Regions from separate parts of the Homo sapiens genome. Here all the other regions are linked to region 1. Evidence: promoter capture Hi-C in 16 types of primary human blood cells and fetal thymus (Javierre and others, 2016). All regions are on one chromosome and are shown on one strand. Each heading gives the region's core, a stretch centred on a gene start or on the middle of the fragment in contact. The rest is flanking DNA. Distances are from core to core; before and after follow the strand shown.

Region 1 (3,369 bases), core at 273-2,772:
TCATATGGTTTTTGCAAAATTAAATGAGTTAATATATTTAACGTGCTTGGGACAAACCATGGCACACAGAGTGACAGCCATACTGTAACACACAGCCAAGGCACCAAAGTCCCTTTCTAGACCCCAGAGAGGAGATCCCCAAAGCCTTTGAGAATGAATAAGACTCAAGCAGGTGCAGAGAAGATGGAAGGACATTCGAGCTGTCTTAGTCCCTTTGTGTTGCTATCAAGAAAGACCTGAGGCTGGGTGATTTACAAAGAAAAGAGATTTCTTTGGCTCATGATTCTGCAGGCTGTACAAGAAGCATGGCGCCAGCATCTGTTTCTGGTGAGGTCTTTAGGCTGCTTCCACTCATGGTGGAACATGAAGGGGAGCTGGTGTGTGCAGAGATCACTTGGTGAGAGAGGAAGGGAGCAAGCAGAAGAGAAGGAGGAGCCAGACTCTTTTTAACAACCAAATCTTGTGGGACCTAAGAGTAAGAACTCACTGATTACCACAAGAATGGCACCGTGCCATTCATGAGCCATCTGCCCTCATGACAAAACACCCCCCACGAGACCCCACCTTCAACACTGGGGATCAAATTTCAACATGTGATTTGAAGGAGACAAGTATCCAAACTGTATCATAGGCAAAGGGATCAGACAACTAAGTGGCCAAGAGGTAAGAGAGAGAAGGGGGCCTTCCGGGAGCCAGGAAAGGGAAGAAACACAGGAAGACGGGGCATGCTAACAGAGCAAGGGGAGGGGATGGAGTCAGGGAGAAGGATGAGGCTGGAGAAAACAGAGCCCAGAGCATACCTTTTTAGGCATATTGGAGTCCAGACTTTGCCCTGACAATGGGGAACCATTGGAGCATTTTACTGAAGTGACACATTTGAATTTATGTTTTAGAGAGGTTTCTTTGGCTGCAGTATGGAAAATAGATGGGGTGGAAAGGAGAGATGAGAGAACAGCAGGAAGAGCTGTTAGGAAGCCATCGTGAGTGCCCAGGCAAGAGATAATAGCTTGGACTATAGTAGTGACCCAGGAGCAAAAAAAAAAAAGAAAAAGAAAGAAAGGCTCAAGTTATTCAGGAGGTAAAAGGAACTGGATTGGCATTGGATTGGATGTGGGAGCCAGGGGAGAAGATGACATCAAAAATGATGCTCCAGTTTTTGACTTGGGTAAATGTACAACAGCAAGCAGCCCAGCCGAGTGATTAGAAGCATGGGCTACAGTTTCAACAGCCTGCATTCAAAGTCTGGCTCTGTCCACAGCTAGCTGTTGAACCTGGGGCAAGGCACCGATTCACTGGGTGCCTCAGAGTATAAGAGAGGGATAATAATTGTATCTTCTGTACAGGGCTCTGGAAAAGGTTAAATGAGGTAAAGTATGTCAAATGCTTGGAACGGAGCCTGGAATATCACAAGCACAGTAAATCTTGGCCACTATTACATAGACAAGATCTCAGGAGCAGGCATAGTTTGTGGGGGTGGGAGCATCATGAGCTAGGTTCAAACACACTGATTCTGAGACATCTAGGGAACCACAGAACAAGTTCTGGGCTGGAGATGTAGATTTCATTTGAGAGCTGCCAGTAGTAGAGACGGTAATTGAAGCCATGGGAATGGAGGTGATTGTCCAGGGAGTGTAGGTAAAGTGAGAATAGATAAGTGCCAAAGGGCACAGTCTGGGTATGTCAACATTTAAGTGACAATTTCAGAAAGAGAAGCCAAGGAAGAAACCAGAGAAAAGCAGTTGGAGAAGCAAGAAGGCAACCAGAAGTGGCCTTGGTACAGCTGTGATGGGGAGACAATGACGAAACAGCAGGAACTGGCACTGAGAGTTATTGGTGTAGCTTGGGCTCTCCCCTCATCATCCTCTCCAGCTGGGAGTCATGTGACAGAAGCAAGAAGCCTGTCACAGCGCACATGTAAAAGAGCAAACTCCAGACACACACGTCTTATCTGTGCTGACGGCCCACCTTGGTGACTGGAAATGACACCATCCAATTTTTTCTGGCCGCAATGTTGCACCCCTGATTTTTTCCTTCATATGACAGACTTCACAGCAAATACTCCTACTGAGTCCAAACAACCGCTACGATTGAGAACAAGCATGAATCCGCCACCCACCTTCTCCTGGAAATAAGGTGATGTGTAGGTTCCTCATCTCCTTTCCAGTGTCCACAAACCCATCTGAGTAATTGCAACTTCAAATTTTTCTTTTCTTTTTTTCTGTTACAGACACTGATTCCAGAAGAGTGTTCCATATGCTATGCTTTTTTAAATTTATTATTTATTATTTTTATTTTTTTGAGACAGAGTCTCGCTCTGTCACCCGGGCTGGAGTGCAGTAGCACAATCTCAGCTCGCTGCAACCTCTGCCTCCTGGGTTCAAGCGATTCTCCTGCCTCAGCCTCCTGAGTAGCTGGGATTACAGGCACACACCACCACACCCGGCTAATTTTTGTATTTTTAGTAGAGATGGGGTTTTACCATGCTGCCCAGGCTGGTCTCGAACTCCTGACCTCAAGTGACCTGTCCACCTTGGCCTCCTAAAGTGCTGGGATTACAGGTGTGAGCCACCGCGCCTGGCCCATATGCTAAATTTATTAGAACCCCCAAGCCTGGCCAAAGGCCTCACTCCTAAGATTCTGGTGGCAATGCCAGCATACACTGGGCTCAGAGGAGGTCTTCAGATACCAGGAGGATTACTCTAATTCAACGCAGAAATGTTGTGAAACTGCTTTATATTCTGTCTAGCACAAGCAAGTGGGGGTTACTATTTTTGTAATCATTATAAGAGCCTTCAACTATATAATTTTGGGAAGTGGTGATAAAAAACAGAGTACTTCTCCCTTGAATTCTACCAGCCCCAAACTTTCATTAACATCCAATTAATTTTCTTAAAAAAGTTCAGCATGAAACTCTCTGCAGCACTTTGGCACAGTAGTATCTATGCATTTGGAATGACACAGTAATTTCTTATCCTAGGGAAAAAAAATTACTCTGTCAAAATGAATCTTTTAGCCTAAGATGAACTGGTTCCATTTCTCATTTCTCTTTTCTCAAGGTTATTGGGTTGCTGAACTCCCATGAACCAAAAAGAAAACACTGAATGGTATCCAAACCAGCCTGGAAAGGACAGCGAGAAAAGCCAGAACCAAGGCTGACCAGCCTGAATGCTGGTAAATGTTATCAAGGTAACAACTTCTCATGTATCGGTATGTGACCAATAAAAAGGGAATGTGCTTGATTAGCAAAAAGAATCTCCATGAAAAATAAGGCATATTAGCATGATGACTTTATTATACAGCAATAACATAAATGGCAATCCACTCTTGTAGAATATTTGTGTTGAAATTAGGAAATGGCAGCAGATTCAA
Region 2 (3,369 bases), core at 438-2,937, 240 kb after region 1:
ACATAAATTTAATTTATTTAGTAAAGCCATTTTTACTTCCTGCAGAAAGGGTACACTCGCCAGGAGTTTTGCCACAAGAGTATACTGAACAAAGGAGACAGGGTCATTTATAACCTGACGCGTCCACCCTACTGCTGTGTCCGGTTTCCACTGGCTGGAACGGGATCTCACATTCTGTATTTGTCCTGACTGGCTAGCAACTTAGAACTTTTTAAAAGAGGTAAAGGTAGAGGGGAACAAAGGAAGGAGGAAGTAACTTGTGGAATGCTGAGAAAGGTAAAAACACTTTTAAATAAGGAAGAGGAACAGGCTATGACCTAATGCTTGCTTGGACCAGTATAAGCATGCCAGGGCAAATATTTAGGCTAAATTGTGGGAGCTAAGAACATAAAGTATATTGATTTCTTTATTATGGCTAGCAAATATTTAAGAATGTTTGCACAGGTCTTCGAATAAATTTTGCTTCTAAGAGAAGTTACTATTTATTCCTAATTAGATGGGGAGGAAAGTCTTTGAAGAGGAACCTCTACTTTGCTTGTCTCCAATTTCTCTCCTCCTCTTCTGTCTTGAACATACCCTCCAATCAAGCTGTAGTTATCGCTAACTTGTTTGTTAAGGTCACCAATGATTTCCACAAGGTTAAATCAAATGTCCAGTGCTTAATCTTTATCTTACCTAAATGCGACATCTTATCCAGCTGGTCTCCTTCCTCTTTGCAAAGCTTTATCTAACTTCCTATAAACATTCTCATGGCTCTCTTCCTCCTTGTCTGGCAGCAGCTTCCTTTAGTTTCCTTGTTGGTTTCTTCTATCTCCCAACATCGCAACACTGAAATGCACTGGGGCTCTATTCTAGGGCTTCCTCTCTGTTTATACATTTCCACAGTGATCTCATGTAATGCAATGAATTTAAATACTAAACACACTCTATAAGCTGAAGCCTCCCCTAATTCATATCTAGCCCAGACCTCTCCCCTCATCGTGCCTCTTGCCTCTATAACTACCTGCTTGATATACACTCTTGAATGTCTAATAAGCATCCCAAACTTAACATGACCTCCCTATCCCCAACCTTTGCTCCTCCCATAAAGTCTTCCCCACATCAGTTACTGGCAAACCCATCTTTCCAAATGATCCACCTTTTCCTTCATATGCCACACACATCTAGCCTGATTGGCAAATTGGTTTTTTTTATACTTCAAATTCTACTCATGATTGGACTGTTTCTCACCATTCCACTGCTACACCTCTGATCCAAGCAACCATCAGCTCTGACCTGGCATACTACAACAGCCTCCTAACCTGTTCTTCCTGCTTCTGACCTCACTACCTCCCTCGCAGGTCTATTATCCACAGACCCTTTAAAAGTCATAGTCCTGAGCCGGGTGCGGTGGCTCACGCCTGTAATCCCAGCACTTTGGGAGGCCGAGGCGGGTGGATCACCTCAGGTCAGGAGTTCGAGACCAGCCTGATCAACATGGAGAAATCCCATCTCTACTAAAAATACAAAATCAGCCGGGCATGGTGGCACGTGCCTGTAATCCCAGCTACTCGGGAGGCTGAGGCAGGAGAATCATTTGAAGCCAGGAGGCGGAGGTTGCAGTGAGCTGAGATCGTGCCATTGCACTCCAGCCTGGGTGACAGGGCGAGACTCCATCTCAAAAAAAGTCTGGGCATGGTGGCTCACACCTGTAATCCCAGCATTTTGGGAGGCCGAGGCGGGTGGATCGGCTCAGGTCAGGAGTTCGAGACCAGCCTGATCAACATGGAGAAATCCCACCTCTACTAAAAATATAAAATTAGCTAGGCATGGTGGCGCATGCCTGTAATCCCAGCTACTTGGGAGGCTGAGGCAGGAGAATCGCTTGAACCCCGGAGGTGGAGGTTGCGGTGAGCCCCGATCATGCCATTGCTCTCCAGCCTAGGCAAAAGAGCGAAGCTCCGTCTCAAAAAAAAAAAAAAAAAAAAAAAGTCATAGTCCTTGTAATGGGCCCCCAAAAGACGCTCTATATGATGCCCTCACTCCACCTACCTCTCTGACTTATCTTCAGCTGTTCTCTCTCCATCCCCTAACCTTCTCTGTTCCAGACAAAAATTAGCTTCCTTGTAGTTCTTCAACGTGCCAGGCATCCGCTCACCTCAAGGGCTTTGTACTTCCTCTTCCTCCCCAAGATATCCATATGGCTTGCTCCCTCAGCTCCTAAGATCTTCATGTTTTCTCAGTGAAGCCATCATAACTGAAATTGCAAACCCCATTCAACCCTACCCTGCACACTCCCTATCCCCACTCCCTGGCTTTATCTCCACAGCACTACTAACAAATCTCATTTCTACTTATTTTGTTCAGAATTTAAGCTCCATGAGAGGATGGATTTGAGTCTATTTTATGGACTGCTATATCCTCAGCATTTGGAACACTGCCTGGCACAATAGATATTCAATTAATATTTACTGAATTCTGAATCTATTTGATGTTATGAAAAGAGGGAAATAAACGATCAGAATTTCATCGTTAACATCATTAAGGCAGGGTTATTTTCAAGGCAGGATGTGCACATTATGGAAGGAAAACAAAAGGAGCCACTCAGGTATGGGGAAAAATAGTCTAACTTCTACTTATATTTATTTTTAACCAGAAAAATGTTCATATTTAAATAAGCTTTTAGGTATGAAAAACAATAAATGAGAACATTTTATTTACACTGCCTTCACCTAAAAAAAAATACATCATAAACTGTTTCATTCCACAAGCTACAGGGCATACGTTAAAAACAACAACAACAAATAACTTCTCTCTCAGCACAGTAATATACTGAAATAGTCATAAGATGTAAATACAAATCAAATGCTTCCCCAAAATGTGTTAATTAAACCCATGGCCATTTTAGGTAATGTCTCTGGTATTTTAAGACTAGTTTTTTGTTTTGATCATGGCGATGTAAGAGCAAGTGAGAAACTGACATGTTCTTTAGGTTCAAACTAAAACATTTTTAGAGTATTAAAAAGCTCAAGAGGCAATAATGAAGCCTCTGACCTTGGGAAGTCCTTTAACATGTGACCAGAACAAAAGAGGCTGGTCTTCATTTTTTAGGAAAAAAGTTAAGATATTAGGGATGAATAGCAGGAGTAGAAAAATGAGAAAATAACTGGATGGTAAAATTCCTTGAATTCTGGGCTCTCCTCACCTCCATCCTTTAATTTTACCCCAGGTCTTCATGTTTTTAGAAAGCCATAAATTGGGTGACTGGAAAAAAAAGAAAGCCAGGGCCCAAGAGTCCCAATCCACCACTCACCAGTTACACAAAGTAGTAGCAGCTCTGTATCTACTATAAAAAGCTACAGAAAGGCCTCCAAAAGCGTATCCCAAAAT
Region 3 (3,369 bases), core at 423-2,922, 190 kb after region 1:
TCAAAAATTATTTTAAAACAGCTGCACTGGCCTGGGAAAACTTTCTGAGGTCACTTTGATACTCTTGGTCTACAATAGAGTCAAATTCCTTAGCCTGTGATGTAGCTGAAGCCTGCTTCTCTAGCTTGTCTTCACCTATTTTCAATTAAGCAGCCTGCATTTTCCTGAAGGTTCTCTTTCACACAGTGATGCCTTTGAACATGATCTTTTCTGCTTGGGTCCGTCTCCTTCTTTCCCCATCTTGCCTAGAAACTTATGTCAAGACCTCATCTGCCAGCCTTTGTGGAGCCCCGGGAAGAGTTATACCCTGGACATGCATCTGTTATTGTTGTTCTTTCCAAGCTTGCAAATATTTATTTTCCTTCTCTGCAAGTAGTACTTAGGGGGCCTGTCTTATAATGGCACAAATTGTATGTTACAAAATAAACGGCAAAGGCTAGAGACAGTTTTCCTCCCCAACATTTTAAATAAGATTGAGAAATTATTGTTTACATCACAAAATGTCATTTAAAAAAAATTCAGAGTGTCCTTTAGGAGCTAATAGAGATTTTATGAGGACCTCCAAATGTGCCCTGTGTCCCTAGCTAGCCTTCATCAATAAACCTGTATTGAATGTGATAGTACAACAATCCTAGGCCAGAAAAACTGCTTCAGGCCTTGATCAGGTTCCCAAAATATTAGAGGTGATATTAATCATTATCATAAAATTTTAGTTGTTCAGAAAAAAAAAAGAAAAAAGAAATGGTCACATGCTCCAGTGCATTTTTAAAAATCACTTAAAGAAATAAAAGAGAACTCAACTCCACTCCCACAACTGGGTCACAAGCTCCATTGGCTAAGGTAGTTGAGTTCCCAGCCACATGAAATAGTTCTATTTCTCAGAACTTGTCCAAAAGACCTCTCCTGCCTGCAGAGATAGAAGTAAGGAAAAGAGAATCTTTCCTACGCCTTTAAGTTTGACCTGCCTCATTTTTTTTTCCCCTCCCTTTCTGTCCATTGATTTAGGCCATCAAGGAACTGTAGAAGTAGAATAGGAAGTGGGAAAGGGAAGAGATAGTGAAGGATGAAGGGGTGGGCCAATCGTGGGGGGCTTTCAAGGGATCTATGTCTATAGTGGCTGAGGTTAAATGAAGTTAACCACAAAGCTAGAGTCACCTCACCACTTCCTACTTTGTAGACTAATAGGCTGAGCTCTGGTTTAACTTAAACTTGAGTGGTCTGGAGTGAACTCATTCGTTCTACACCAGTTCCTCACAGAATATTATATATTTTTTATCATTATTATTGAGATTTTACGTGTTTTTATTCTTTCCTTTTTTTTTTTTTTTTTTCTGAGACAGGGTCTTGCTCAGGTGCCGGGACTAGAGTGTAGTGGCGTGATCATGGCACACTGTAGCCCTGACCTCCCAGGGTCAAGCAGTCCTCCAGCCTCAGCCTCCCAAGCAGTTGGGACTATAAGTGCACACCACAACACCCAGCTAATTTTTTTTTTTTGAAGAGATGGGGTTTTGCCATGTTACCCAGGCTGGTTTCGAACTCCTGAGTTCAAATAATCTGCCTGCCTTGGCCTCCCAAAGTGCTGGGATTACTGGCGCAAGCCACCACGCCTGACTGTTTTTATTCTTATTAACCAATCTGAAAGCAATTTACTTAATGTCTGGCTGAACACACACACACACAGACGATATTCTAATACAAATGAACATGCACATGACATGATTTTGAGAAATACAGGAAAGCATAAGGAAAAAAATCTATAGTTAACCCAAAAATAAAAATTATTAACTATTTTGTCAATTCTGCTATTAAGATCTTTATATAGTTGGGACTGTATTGTATTCACAACTTTTTTTTTTTTTTTTTTTTTTGAGACAGAATCTCACTCACTCTGTCACTCAGGCTGGAGTGCAGTGGCACAACCAGGCTCACTGCCTCCTGGGTTCAAGGGATCCTCCCACGTCAGCCTCCAGAGTAGCTGGGACTACAGGCATATGCCACCATGCCCACATAATTTTTGTATGTTTTTTTAGAGATGGGTTTTGGGTTTGGCCACGTTGCTCCAGGTGATACAACCTTTAATACTTAGAAATCTAACTTTGTAACAAGCTCTTGCCTTGCTTTTAGAAACTATGTAAGCATTGTTATTTATAGCTACATAGAACTCCTTGAAGTGTATATATTGTAATTTATATAACCATTTTTCTTTTTTCTTTTCTTTTTTTTTTTTTTTTTGAGACAGAGTCTTGCTCTGTCGCCCAGGCTGGAGTGCAGTGGCATGATCTTGGCTCACTGCAAGGTCCGCCTCCTGGGTTCATGCCATTCTCCTGCCTCAGCCTCCTGAGTAGCTGGGACCACAGGCGCCCGCCACCATGCCCGGCTAATTTTTTATATTTTTAGTAGAGACGGGGTTTCACCATGTTAGCCAGGATGGTCTCAATCTCCTGACCTTGTGATCCGCCTGCCTCGGCCTCCCAAAGTGCTGGGATTACAGGCGTAAGCCACCATGCCCGGCCTACTTATATGACCATTTTTCTACTACTAGGCATTTAGTTTTTAACTAAACATATTTTGGAATAATAATATGGATTTCGACCTTTTAAAAGCTCTCACTACCAGCAATGAGAAAATAAGACCTCTTTAAAGAAGGTATAGGCAGCAGTAGTTTAAAAGTATTTTAGTCATTGGTTTCCTTCAGCCAAGAAAAACAGGTACAATATCACTGAATTATGGACAAAAGCAGGAAATACCCTGAAATTTTCCCAAGAATAATATATTTCTTAAACACATGCTGATGTGAAGGTTGGACTTGTTCTAGGAAGGCTTTAGGAAAGAAAGGAGTCTTGAATAGGAGAATAAATATACAAGAGGTGGTATAAAGACATGATGTTGGGGGTAAGAGAAAAAACATGGCAAATGTCGTGAGGTGAAGAACTCAGGCTCTTAACGTGGTGCCTGGCAGAGTTCCTCTGCCATCATTGCCTTTGATGGTGACTGGATTCTGGTAAGCTTACCACAAATCCTTAAATTCTAGGCAGAACACTTGCTTAAACAAAGAATTTAAACAACCATTTGCTAACGGTAATCTCCTGCCTACTCTAAGTGTCTTTTCACCAAATCGTTCCTCTTTTTCTATGCTATTTAGACTTTGCCAGCATTAGAGTGGGCAGCCAGATGTTATTTCACAGAATTCACACGGCTGGAATCGCTGCTGTGAGAATTCTTTTAAAGGGATGTAGAACTTATAGTCTTCCTAAAGCCCCATGTCCCTGAACTTTTGTAGCAATCTGGGGAAGATAGAATGCTGCATTATTATATTACATTTGATTTTCATTTAAATCAATTCTTTTCTTAGAAAGTTATCTAAAAATT
Region 4 (3,369 bases), core at 624-3,123, 140 kb before region 1:
GAAGAAAATTGGGAGACCAGAGCCTGGAATCAAGGGACTGGGGAGGAGAGCCAAGCTCAGGCCCAGGGGGTCTCCTAAGAGAAGTAAACCTGGCTCTCTACTGTGTGGGATGCTGATGCTTGAGAAACCAGCACCACAGGAAATGTCAAAGTCCTGGATAGAAGTTGGAAATGGAAAACATGAAGTTCCAGCAGCAGCAGCAGTATGAGCAACTAGAGGGCTGCAGAAATCCCACCGTTGAAAGAACTCCTTCCATGTCAGTGGGTCAAACCCAGCCAGGGAGGCTAGGCTGCTCCACACTTCCACCCTCTCACCCCCAGGGCTCCAGAGAGCAGATGAGGAGAAACCCGTAAGGATTTATCTAGCCAGATAAAGCACTGAAGCCACAGCCTGTGGCCTCTGACCGAGATTTCTACGTGAGTGATAGGAAACCTATTTCTGTGCCTGACATTTCTGCCTGTTTCCAGACAGGGTGTCCCAACTCAAGTGCTATGTGGCTTAGGATTTCTGGGGTTCCATTATGAATTGAAGTTTCTCTGGGATGAACCTCAAAAATTTTCCTACCGTATTGCTTCCTAACTTCTCCTTGGTCCTCTGAAACTGCCAAAGTCTTGCTTTGTAGAATTACTTTCTGTAAGCTCCAAGTGTGTATTTATTTTGAATTAACATTGTTTACAGCTTTATTGAAGAATAATTTATATACAATAAACTTCACCAACTTAAAGTGTGAATGGATTTTAGTAAATGAAAATAGTCATGCCACCACCACCACAATCACATTTTGGAACACTGCCATAACCCCGAAATTGTCCTCAGGCCCCTTTGCATTCAACTCCTGTCCATATCCCCAGCCCCAGGAAAAAAACAATCTATTTATTGTCCCTTTAGTTTTGTCTTTTTAGGATTTTCATTAAATATTTTGAGACAGCCAGGTGGGAAGGGATCCCCAGAGAGACTCCAACCGGCCTGCTCCCCGGGAGGAGTGCGCACTGGGGTGGAGCCTTGGGAAGTTCGTGCCATTTGCAGGGGGAGGAGCCTGGCCTTTCTTCTTCCTGGGTGGAACCCGGGATTCAATCTGTGAGGCGGAAGCCTTTACTAGCAGGACTCTCACTCTGCTGAGGGTCCCTGTTTGCCCTTTTTTTCCTTTTCACCCAATAAATTCCATTTTTCTCACCCTTCAAAGTGTCTGTGGGCCTAATATTTCATGGCCGTGTGACAATGACCCGGCTCTTAGCTGAACTAAGGAGAAAGCCCTACAACGATTTCAGGTAAATGGAATCATACAGTACTATACATGGTATTTTGTTTTTGGCTTCTTTCACTTAGCCTGGTGCCTTTAAAATTCATCCACATTGTTGCATCAGTACTCTATAGAGGAGGAAAAATAATTTTTCCTCTACCTTTCATGAGTTCTTAATTGGAACAGACCCTTGTAACAAAAAACAGATTAATAAGAGAAAAACAAACAGAAGATTAATCACATGTATACCTTATGCATATGTGGAAGATACTCAGGGAAGAGTGAATAAAATCGCCAGAGTAGATCTCAAAAGCTTGCTTACACTTGAGACTACAGTCATGTACCATGTCCCCTGAAATAAAGAAAGAAGGGTGTGGGAAATGCCTAGTTATGGGGAACTGGCCAGGAAAAGCCCCATAAACGAGGTTTAGATTTGTTGTACAGATTTAAGCCTATGCCTTCTCCATTGGCAAGAGTGTCTAGTGATCTACCATCCTTTCCTCCTGGTACAGAGAGGGAGACAATCTTACAAATGGAGAGTTCCTTTATAGATGTACATTTCTCTTACAAAAGGGTAACCTCTACTCTCATTTTCAGAGCTTCTCCTGTGTCTGCTGTTTCCCAGAAGAATCACCTCAAATAATCCTTATGCCAAAAAAGCATATTTTGAGGTGGTATATTCTGGTCTCCTACAGTCATATTTTGGGGGTATTGTGCCCTGTAGCCCCATCAACTCCATTCCTTTTAGTTGTTAATATTTAACTGTATATCACCATTTTCTTTTTATCTATATATCAGTTGATGGCCATTCAGATTGTTTCCAGTTCGGTGTTATTATGGAATGATGTTATGAACATTCATGTATGTCTTTCAGTGGGCATATTTTCTCATTTCTCTTGGGTAATACCTAAGAGTGGAATTACTGGGCGGTAAGTGTATGTTTAACATTTTAAGAAGCTTCTTTTTTTGAAACATCTGTATTGTTTTCCATTGCCAACAGCAGCGTATGAGATTTCTAGTTGCTCTATAGCCTCACCAACACTTATTATTGCCAGTATTTTTAACCTTAGCTATTCTAGTGTGGGTGTAGTGGTCTCCCATTGTGGTTTTAAGTTGCAGTTCTGTAATTACTAATGATGCTAAGCATTTTTTCATGTGATTTTTTGACAGTTCATGTATTTTCTTTTGTGCATTGTCTATTCAAATATTTTTCTCATTATATTATTGGATTGTTTTCTTAAGTTGTAAGAGAAATTAATGTTATCTGGATACAAATCCTTTGTTAGATATATATTTTACAAATATTTTCTCTTAATGGCTTAGCTTTTCATTTTCTGAATTGTGTCTTTTGACAAGCTAATGTTTTAACTCTTTATGAAGCCCAATTTATCAATTTCTCTTTTACAGTTCATGCTTTTTGTAATCTATTACATAAGAAACTTGCCCTAATCCAAGGTTACGAAGATTTTTTACTATATGTTATTCTACAAGGTTTATAGTATTGGCTCTGAGATTTAGGTCTACTCTCTGTTTTGAGTGAAATTTGTGTATGCTGTGAGGAAAAGGTCAAGGTACCTTTCTTAATATAGAGATCCAGTTATTCCAGTATAATTTATTGATGGCTGTTCTTTTCTTACCTTGGCACTTTATCAAAACTCAATTGACTATGTTAGTGTAGGTCTATTTCTGGACTCTCAACTCTGCTGCATTAATCCACATACCTGTCCTTATGCCACTACCACACTGTCCTGATTTTCTAGCTTTTCTAGTAAGTCCTAAAATCAGATAGTATAATTCCATTAACTTTGTTCTTTTTAAAAATTGTTTTGGGTATTCTAGTTCCTTTGCAGATGCTGCATTTTAAATAATGCTTTAATGATTGGGAAATATAGCATATCTAATACTATACCCATTTTATTTATTTATTTATTTATTATTTTTTTTTTGAGACAAAATGTCACTCTGTTGCCCAGGCTGGAGTACAGTGGCACCATCTTGGCTCACCGCAGCCTCTGCCTCCTGGATTTAAGCAATTCTCCTACCTCAGCCTCCCGAGTAGCTGGGATTATAGGCATGCACCACCATGCTTGGCTAATTTTTGTATTTTTAGTAGAGATGAGGTTTTACTA

What was found. Contacts are between HindIII fragments. The CHiCAGO score rates a contact against its expected background, and 5 or more counts as called.
Region 2: a contact is called between a fragment that was not itself captured here and the fragment with the promoter of LINC02412 in region 1, in 2 of 17 cell types (erythroblasts and M2 macrophages). The highest score is 6.3, in erythroblasts.
Region 3: a fragment that was not itself captured here is called in contact with the fragment with the promoter of LINC02412 in region 1 in 1 of 17 cell types (megakaryocytes); the score reaches 5.0 in megakaryocytes.
Region 4: a fragment that was not itself captured here is called in contact with the fragment with the promoter of LINC02412 in region 1 in 1 of 17 cell types (endothelial precursors); the score reaches 5.6 in endothelial precursors.

The regions. Positions count from the first base shown.
Region 1 is chr12:93,172,844-93,176,212 of GRCh38, forward strand. It overlaps LINC02412 (long intergenic non-protein coding RNA 2412), which reads left to right and starts at 1,523. Exons shown (of 3, transcript NR_120492.1): 1 at 1,523-2,133; 2 at 3,057-3,186. The region is part of intron 3 of LOC643339 (a long non-coding RNA gene); the gene reads right to left. The HindIII fragment of the contact is 10,573 bases long and covers 1-3,369 here.
Region 2 is chr12:93,412,502-93,415,870 of GRCh38, forward strand. All of the region lies in intron 1 of UBE2N (ubiquitin conjugating enzyme E2 N), which reads right to left. Among named protein-coding and RNA genes, the nearest start is that of UBE2N, 28 kb to the right of the region's middle. The HindIII fragment of the contact is 1,937 bases long and covers 720-2,656 here.
Region 3 is chr12:93,363,061-93,366,429 of GRCh38, forward strand. All of the region lies in intron 1 of LOC643339 (a long non-coding RNA gene), which reads right to left. Among named protein-coding and RNA genes, the nearest start is that of NUDT4, 13 kb to the right of the region's middle. RefSeq lists a silencer at 1,200-1,269. The HindIII fragment of the contact is 2,664 bases long and covers 341-3,004 here.
Region 4 is chr12:93,028,932-93,032,300 of GRCh38, forward strand. The region is part of intron 3 of LOC643339 (a long non-coding RNA gene); the gene reads right to left. Among named protein-coding and RNA genes, the nearest start is that of LINC02413, 40 kb to the left of the region's middle. The HindIII fragment of the contact is 644 bases long and covers 1,552-2,195 here.